2 separate regions of the Homo sapiens genome follow, and region 2 is linked to region 1. The links are contacts of gene promoters, found by promoter capture Hi-C in human tissues and cell types (Jung and others, 2019). All regions are on one chromosome and are shown on one strand. Each heading gives the region's core, a stretch centred on a gene start or on the middle of the fragment in contact. The rest is flanking DNA. Distances are from core to core; before and after follow the strand shown.

Region 1 (4,438 bases), core at 1-2,500:
CAGGTCCACCAGGTTGAGGGCGCTGCGCGCGAAGCGCCTCAGGTCGGGCGTGGAGGCTAGGCGCAGCAGGTACTCGAGCGTGAAGAAGCCCATGCACAGCATCTCCACGTGCTCCAGGATGGGCCGCAGGTCTGGGCCGCCCTCGCCCTGCCCCGAGTGCTGCTGCATCTCCTCCACGGTGTTGAGCGCCAGCGCCACCACGGAGACGAGCACGAAGGTGCTGGAGGCCACCCCGATGGCCTTGGCGGCCACCGAGGAGAATGGCTTCTCCATGAGGTTCCAGAGGCGGCGCCGCTGCGGGCCGTAGAAGCGCATGTCGCGGAAGAGTTCCTCCGCCTCCTCGACCTGCGCCTGCGCGCGCAGCTCGTGCTGGATCTTGAGCCGTTCGCTCAGCTCGTCGCGCCGCTCCTCGAAGCAGATGCGGCAGCAGCGTGGCGTGTACTTGAGCCGCACGCCCCAGTAGCCCAGCTCCTCCAGGAAGCGGCGCGGACACAGCCCGTCGAGCACCAGCAGCACCCCGGACAGGTAGAAATTGTAGACCAGCTGGAAGACGGCCGGGTCGCGGTCGAAGAAGTATTCGTCTGTCTGCTCCTCGTAGTCGTCGCACAGGCTTAGCTGGCGGCTGCGGCTGGTGGAGGTGGCCAGGCGACCTAGGCGCGTCTTGGGGAAGCCGGCCAGCTCGCAGTAGTCCAGCTGGTAGCTGTGGCCACCCACGTTCACATTCAGCGTGGACAGCAGGGCCGGAGGGTCGCTGGGGCCCTCGGGCTTGGCGGTGGTGACCTCCCCTGCCTGCTGGTCCTCTTCTGCCAGGTCGTCCTTCCACTGGTCCTCCTCCTCGCCGTCTTCGTCTTCCTCGATGTAGTAGTTATAGTTGCCCTCTGTCCAGCCGTGGATGCTGGCCTGGGAGCCGGAACGGGCACCCAGGGAGCAAATGCTCCTGCGGTGTTGGCTGCCCTCATTCTCCGTCGTGTTCCAGGGCCTGTAGCTCCAGGACCGTCTCCTCTCACTCTGTTTGAGCATGGCTGCGGAAAGTGGACGCCTAGCTTTTTCCTCCTGGCTGTGGTAGGGGTCCCTCACCTGCTCACTGCCTCTAGGAGGATGGATCACGTGGCCTGCACTGTCTTAGAGAGGCCAGCCCGGACCAGCACAGCTAGGGGCTCAGACATTGCCACCGGAGCTGCCCCTTCTCAGGTCCTGGGCAGGCCAGCCCAGCCTGCAGGGTCTGAACGCAGTCAGCTGTTGACTGCTCTAATCTTGCTGATTTGGAAGAAGCAAGTGTTAGGAGGGATTTAGAACCTCTTAGCCCATTTCCTCCCCCACTCCCTTGACCCTGTGAGGTAGAGGATGATTATGTGGTCTTAAATCTCTAGGTAATCAGAAGAAGGCAGAGATTATTGCTAATAAAAATGTCGGTCAACCTCGCTCTTAGGAAGCGCTCAGTGTATGTGTGCTGAGATGAAATCAACTGAATTAGCTATAGAATACGGATGCCTGTGTCTTCAGCTTCATGGTTGAGATGGTAGCCTCTGCCCTAGGTAAACTCACCATTAGCAGGGATGACACATAGCAACGGAACAAAGCTGACTTCATGACAAGTCAGTTTCCCTCTCAGCGTAACTCTTCGTTTAGAGCATATAAGATCTAAAGCCATCTCCTTCTTGTCCATTCACATGATCACATTTTTTTTTTTTTTTCAAATGGATTCTCCCTGGGGCACTGTTCAGGTCCAGTCGGATCTTTGAGTCAGCTTCAGCTTCTCTCTCTCCTTTTTATCTCCTCCCTTTCTCTTAAAGGATAGAGACATGTTTCAAGGTAGAATTCCAGGAATGGTAGGAAGACGTTTTTAGGGCCTCACAACCCTGCTCAGCAATATTAGGCCATATTTAAAGGGAGCCTGACTTCCACCCAAAAAAAAAGGGTCTTCTTCATCCTTCAAAACATCACTTTAAAAAAAAAAAAAAAACCCTTTTCATGATTAAGGCAATGTGCAAATGCTGGATATGCAAACACGATGGAGACACAGTTGTAGCAGTCAAAGAACTCTTGGTTTTGTTGGGGATATAAACATGCAAGGATAACAAAAGATGCAATAAATACTGGGGAGGAGAGAAGCAGGAGGGATTTGCTTTGAGCAGGGAATTGGTTTTTCTATTCAATTTATTTTGCATAGCTAATACACATTCATGATAAAAAATTGTAAAGGTAAAAAGACATATTACAGTAGAAAGTTTATGTCTTTCCCACCCATAATTTCAAGACATCAGGTGTACCTCAAGGAAGCAACCACTATTACTACCTTTTGGCTATCCTTCCAGAAATATTCTAAACATATACAAGCAAAAATATACCTACCTTTATCCATCATCTCAGTACCTCTTCATTATTAATAGAAATCATAGAATGCTATATACTTTGCCTTTTCCAGTTGGCCATATAAAAGATGTTTTCATATTTGAACACAAATATCTACCTTATTTTAAAAATAGCCACTGAGCACTTTCCTAATGACAGACATTCAGAATGTTTCTACCTTTGCTTTTATGGACAATTATGCAACAAATACCTTATATGTACATCACTTTACACATGTTCAAGATATATAAAGGATAAATTCTTAGAGGTGAGATTACTAGGTCAAAGATTGCACATTTGTAATTTTGATTAGTAGTGCTACATTTCTCTCCATAAAAGTTTTACCAATTTACAATTCATCAACGGTTGAAAATGTCTTATACTTTTTTAACTCTACCAATTTTGTAAGTGAAAAATGATGTGTGGGTTAATTTGTATTTCTTATAAATGTGATTGAACACTTTTTCATGTGATTAAAAGCTATTTCTTTTTCTGGGAACTGTCTGTTCATCGACTTTGCCTATATTTTCCACTGAGTTGTTTACATTTTTCTTATTGATTTGTAGGAGAGCTTAATACATTATGAAAAAAGACCCTTTACTTGTGATATGGATTGCACCTTTTTTCGGTTTTAACTTTAATATTTTTTCCATGTAAAAATCTTTATTTTATGATTTCTGGGTGTTGTGTAGTATTAGAAAAGGCTTCACCTCTCTGTAAATAAAACTTTTCTTTTTATAGTTTTAACATCAGAAATTAATTTTGATGTAAAGAGTGAAGTAGGGGCCTAACTTTATTTTCCAAGCTTTTATCCAGATGTTTCAACACATTAATTGCATAATCCATCATTTCCTCACTGATTTGTGGTACTATCTTTGTCACTTAGTTGAGTTTTAACTATGCTTCAAAGTTGTTGAGACGGGTAACGTTATGAGGTCTGCATCTGCTAGTGTGGCATTCACTGATGTTGTTTAGCTTGCAATAGGCCTCAGACCTACAAGCTTATGGTAAAGCTTCTTACCAGGCTTAGCCTTTAAGTTCCTAAATGTATTTCTAGCGTTCCCTTTTTGGTATACAATATTGATGTTGTTTTGCTAGCCACACACTTAATTGCTTTCCAAGTCTATCTTTTCTTTATATTGTGCTGAGTACTGCCATAATAGATTTTGCATGTTGCATAAATTCACCTTTTCTCTTCAGAACCAATTATACTATTATAAAAAGTAAAGACTGGGTGTGGTGGCTCACGCCTGTAATCCTAGCACTTTGGGAGGCCGAGGTAGGTGGATCACTCGAGGTAAGGAGTTTGAGACCAGCCTGGCCAACTTGGTGAAACCCCATCTCTACTAAAAATACAAAAATTAGCCGGGCTGGGCATGTTGGCGGGTGCCTGTAATCCCAGTTACTCAGGAGGCTGACACACAAGAATTGTTTGAACCCGGGAGACAGAAGTTGCAGTGAGCTGAGATCATGCTGCTATACTCCAGCCTGGGTGACAGAGTGAGACTTGGTCTCGACAAAAAAAAAAAAAGTAAAAATATCACCATTTTCATATTTTTATCTTCTTCTTTTTCAATTGAAATAATATACTACTTTTTTTTTTTTTTTTTGAGACAGAGTCTCACTGTGTTGCCCAGGCTGGAGTGCAGTGGCGTGATCTCGGCTCACTGCAATCTCCGCCTCCTGGGTTCAAGCAATTCTTCTGCTTCAGCCTCCTGACTAGCTGGGATTACAGGCGCCCGCCAGCATGCCTGGCTAATTTTTGTAATTTTAGTAGAGATGGGGTTTTGTCATGTTGGCCAGGCTGGTCCCGAACTCCTGATCTCAGGTGATCCACCCACCTTGGTCTCCCAAAATGCTGGGATTACAGGTGTAAGCCACCATGCCCAACCCATGTACTACCACTTATCCAGACTTTCAACACTTAAAAACTATGGAGTTAGTAATGTTTGTATGGCATCTAGAAGCTAAGCACAAACACCACATCCATACAGTAGATTGAGGAATATTACCTGGGTAGACCCCACTTAAGTGACTCTTACACCCCCGGTATGAGTAGTTGCTTGGATTTTGCCCTGATGTATAT
Region 2 (4,732 bases), core at 2,110-4,609, 150 kb after region 1:
TCGACATATGAATTTGGGGGAGATACAATTCAGCCCATAGCACCCTGCAAAGTCAGACATAACAATAGCAATCAAAAGAAAGTTGTTGTTTGCTAGGGAAGGACCAAAGAAAAATTGTTATCTATTTTTTTTAAGTTTTGTGTTTTGTTTTTTAAAGACAGGATCTTCCTCTGTCACCTAAACTGGAGTGCAGAGGTGCGATCATAGCTCACCATAGCCTTGAACTCCTGGACTTAAGCAATCGCCACCCTCCCTTCCCTCAACCCCTTGCCTTGGCTTCCTAAAGTATTGGGATTACATGCATGAGCCACTGCACCCAGCTAATATTTTATTTTTAAGAGTGGCCGTTTAGTGCAGGGACATATCCCTCTATGGAGGTCAGTGGTTCCTGTGAGCATCATAATGACTAATGTTCACAGTAATGATTCTGAGTCTCTAGGAACTATATTCAGTGTCCTTTGTTTAAGAGGGCAAGGAAGAGTGTAATCTATTTTAGGATTATTTTTGTCAATGTACCTAAAGTATTGGTGTGTCTGTGGGTTGTAATCAATCATTTGAAATATCCATTTATGTGGAATGGTTTTCTAAAGCCTGATAAATCTTATGCATTAACAAACACTTAATAAGTATTTTCTAGGGTCAGTCAGTAGGAACAATTGTTTTCTTCTGAATTATGCAAGAGATAACAAAATTTAATGTTGGTATTTCAGTCCTTGAAAATAATCCACTAGGTTCTTCACTGCCTAGCACCAAGGTTGAAAATAGTGATTACAGTGCTTTCTTATGCAAAGGAACAATGCCTTGGGTCATCTGTGCCTGCTCTTCTCTCTAGGGCATAGGGAAGTTCTTTCCCTCTCATAAGTGCACGCTTCATTCCTGCACCTCATTCTAAGCTCTGTGCATGTTCTCTCATTGGAGAAGCCTTCCCTGGTCACCCTATTAATAAAATAACAGACTTCTATCCCCAGGCTGTATTACTCATCGTCTCTCTTTGCCCTGCTCATTTATTGTCTATTCCATCACTTCCTCTACCCCTACCAACATAAGAGTCCCACCAGGGATGTTCACAGTGATGTTCTCCCTAGGTCCCAGAACAGTGCCTGGCACTTAGTATGCACTCGGTAAATATATGTTGACTAATTGATGGCATAATTCCTTATCTTATTTAATCCTTGTGGCACTTCTTTTATGGGTTGGATGCTGGTATTTTGATTTGATGAACTGAGAAAGCAGGCTCAGTAACTTGCTGAGAGAATACAGCTACTATGGAGCTGAGTTTTGAACTTTTGTCCTTATGACTCTGAGTTCAGCATTCATCATATCACACTTTTAACCCCACCTAGTGATGTGGAACTATATGGCAATGCTAGTGAGTGCTGGCAAGTGGCATTCCAGGATTTGGTCATTGATGTTTAATGGGAGGACAGAATCATTAGGTTACAGCAGATTTACAGCTGATAATGAATTTTTTCAAGAAATTAAGTTGTGACCCATCTATGTATCTATTAATCAAGATTCCTCAGTCTCAACAGGGAGGATAATAAATTTAGTTTTTGTTTGTTTTTGAGACAGAGTCTTACTCTATCACCCAGGCTGGAGTGCAGTGGCTCAATCCCAGCTTGCTGCAATCTCCACCTCCTAGGTTCAAGCAATTCTCTTGCCTCAGCCTCCTGAGTAGCTGGGATTACAGGCATGCACCACCACACCCAACTAATTTTTGTATTTTTTTAGTAGAGATGGGGTTTCACCATGTTGGCCAGGCTGGTCTCGAACTCCTGACCTCAAGTGATCCAACTGCCTCAGCCTCCCAAAGTGCTGGGATTACAGGCATGAGCCACCATGCCCAGCCAGTTTACGTTTTCTTTGTTTTAATTTTGTTCTGAATGAACAAATAGAAAACAACTTGCTGATTAGTCACTGTGTTGTAGTAATTATCATTTATTTCCACATCCCCCTTCTAGATAGACAACCATGTCATAACAGGATCTAGAGTATACGTAGTCTGGTCCAGAGACAGAAGATAGGAGGTTAACCAGATCAGAATCATTCATTCAAGGATCAGAGTTATATAACCAGCCACAGGTCAGATATAGAATGTTAGACATTCAATTTTTAAGATTTTCAGCAACAAAGTCTCCTTATCAGTGGCCCATTAAAGGAATACCTTGATAGTATTAAACAAGAAAGGTGCTGAAGATTAACCAAGTTCCCACACTTGCCTCTTACTGCTGCCTCTTTGGCCAGGGCAAAGCCAAGGTCAGATGCAAGGCTGACCCTGACAGGTATGTGACTCTTGAATACACTCTCTTAGCAATGGGGAGTCAAGGGAGCCCCATGAGTGACAGTTAGTGTATGTTTTGGTGAAGTTCATCTCTGAATGGACAATGTTGTCTCACAGATTGATGCTATTAGGGTTTTGTTTATGTGTAGATAATACTCTGCAGACATTTATCTTTTGTTTTAACTTAAATGGCTGCAAACAAGTCTGTTGAAACACCAGGAAATAGGTAATTATATATAAATGTGTTTTAAAAAGTTAAGCATGCAATGGGCCAACGTAAGTCAGCATATATTAACATTGCTTAGGGGGCAAATGTGTTTCTGGAACATAAAACTAGGAACCTAGCATGAGGTTTGTTTTCCTGCACACATCGTTTACCTATATATTTTTAGAACAACCATTCCATGCCAGGTAATGTAGTATATGCTCACAGTATACAGACATAAGACCCAGCCTGTTCTCAAGGAGCTCAGGACATAACAACTTCTCCGTGGGCCACTTCTAGACTCCTGTGTTTCTGTTTCTTTCAGCTTACAAGAATTCTAAAAGAGTGATATGGTTTGGATATTTATTGCTGCCCAAATCTCATGTTGAATTGTAATCCCCAGTGCTGGAGGTGGGGCCTGGTGGGAGGTGTTTGGTCATGGGGTGAATCCCTCATGGCCTGGTGCCATCTTCATGACAGTGAATTCTGGCAAGATCTGATCCTTTAAAAGAGTGTGGCACCTACCACCTCCACTCTCTCTTGCTCCCGCCTGTGATGTGCCTGTACCCCCTTTGCCTTCTGCCATGATTGGAAGCTTCCTGAGGTCTCTCCAGAAGCACATGCTGCTGTACTTCCTGTACGCCTACAGAACTGTGAGCCAATTAAACCCCTTTTTAAATAAATTATCCAGTCTCAGGTATTTCTTTGTAGCAAGGCAAGAACAGCTTAATACAAAGAGGAAATAAAAATTTGAGATACATGAAAAAGAAATCAATTAATTAGTTTAAAGTTAGTTTAATTGTTAATTAGAGGAAAGATACAGAGATTGTATCCTATAGTTTTTCTTCCTTCACACTTAATGGAGGGTTCTAAGTATGCAATCAGAGAAAGATATTAAGATAGAACAGATGTAAAGACTTTCCCTTTCTGACCTTAAAGCTGTGAAAAGATTTATTTACCTATTACATGTATCTTATATGTGTGTGTATATGTGTTTGTGACCCTCCGAAGTGTGTATGTCAAATTCCTAAGCCCTAGTATTTCAGAATGTGACTAAATTTGGAGACAGATCTTTAAAGAGATAATGAAATAAAATGAGATAATTAGAGTGGGCCCTAATCCAATGTGGTTGGTGTCCTTTGAAGAAGATGAGACTAGGATGCAGACAGTTACAGAGGGAAAATCATGTGAGGATAAAAACAGAAGATGGCTATCCGCAAGTCAAAGACAGCAGCCTCAGATGAAACCGACCCTGTCAACATCTTAATCTCAGACTTCTAGCCGTGGCTCTGAGAAAATAAATTTCTGTTGTTTAAGCCACTCAGTGTATGCTACTTTGTTTTGGCAGCCCTAGAAAATGAATACAAACACAGTATCCAAATATAAGGACCTTAGTTCTAAAGATTTTAAGAACCCAGAAACTGCACACATGTATCAGGGCTAGTTTAGAAAGAAATATTCTCAGGTGCTGGATCATACTGGGCTTGTGAAGCTCAATGACAGGATGAAAAACAATCCTGGCTGAATAGCTACGTGGATGTGAAGGGCTCTATGTCCTTAGTAGCTCATTGACTCAGTGAATAGTTTTTAAGCTCCTGCTATGTGCTAGGTATTGAACTAGGCAAGGAAAAACAAGAATTTGTCCTCGAGGCACTAGTTACTGTTGGCGGCAGCTGCAGTGTGAGGTCTTCTGAGTAATGTGAACAGGGCACATAACTGAGCAAGGGGGTTGTTCCAGGTCTGTATTCCCACTATCACTGGGCTACACTTGGTATTTTTTGTTTATTTCTCTTAAAGCCTTCTTTTTTATTATTGACCTTCTCTTTTTTATTTTATTTTTTATCTTTTTCTAAGTGGCTACATACTGGATATCAACACTGGATTTGTAGTAGTTCAGTTAGGCTCCTAGGAAGTCATTCAGAGAACGTGTTGCAGTGAATCAGACTGTGTTAACTCTGACCTAGAGTGTTATCGTCTGTCTGGCTCAATTCCAGAAGAGAGAACCTCCTCCTGTGACCTCTTCCCCTGTATCTCAGGCCATAAATAGGTGCTGGGGCCCTGCCAAGTTGGGTCACTGTGGTTCATGAGGGACTGTCAGTTTCTTACAAACATTACGCAGCTGCAAAATTGCTATGCCACCCAAGGTGACTCATAAAATCTGTCCCTCTTAAAAAGGGAATATGAGAAATGTCACCTCCTGGCTACCACAATAATGCAACTAGGAGTTCTGGTTCTCCGCTGACTAC

The links. The method cuts DNA at HindIII sites, captures the fragments that hold promoters and counts their contacts. A contact is called where the count stands out against the background at its distance.
Region 2: a contact is called between a fragment that was not itself captured here and the fragment with the promoter of KCNV2 in region 1, in 1 of the 25 tissues and cell types used here (spleen).

What each region holds. Positions count from the first base shown.
Region 1 is chr9:2,714,322-2,718,759 of GRCh38, reverse strand. It overlaps KCNV2 (potassium voltage-gated channel modifier subfamily V member 2), which reads right to left and starts at 1,250. Exons shown (of 2, transcript NM_133497.4): 1 at 1-1,250. The coding sequence starts at 1,020. The HindIII fragment of the contact is 9,328 bases long and covers 1-4,438 here.
Region 2 is chr9:2,570,684-2,575,415 of GRCh38, reverse strand. The region is part of intron 1 of VLDLR-AS1 (VLDLR antisense RNA 1); the gene reads left to right. Among named protein-coding and RNA genes, the nearest start is that of VLDLR, 49 kb to the left of the region's middle. The HindIII fragment of the contact is 4,718 bases long and covers 1,001-4,732 here.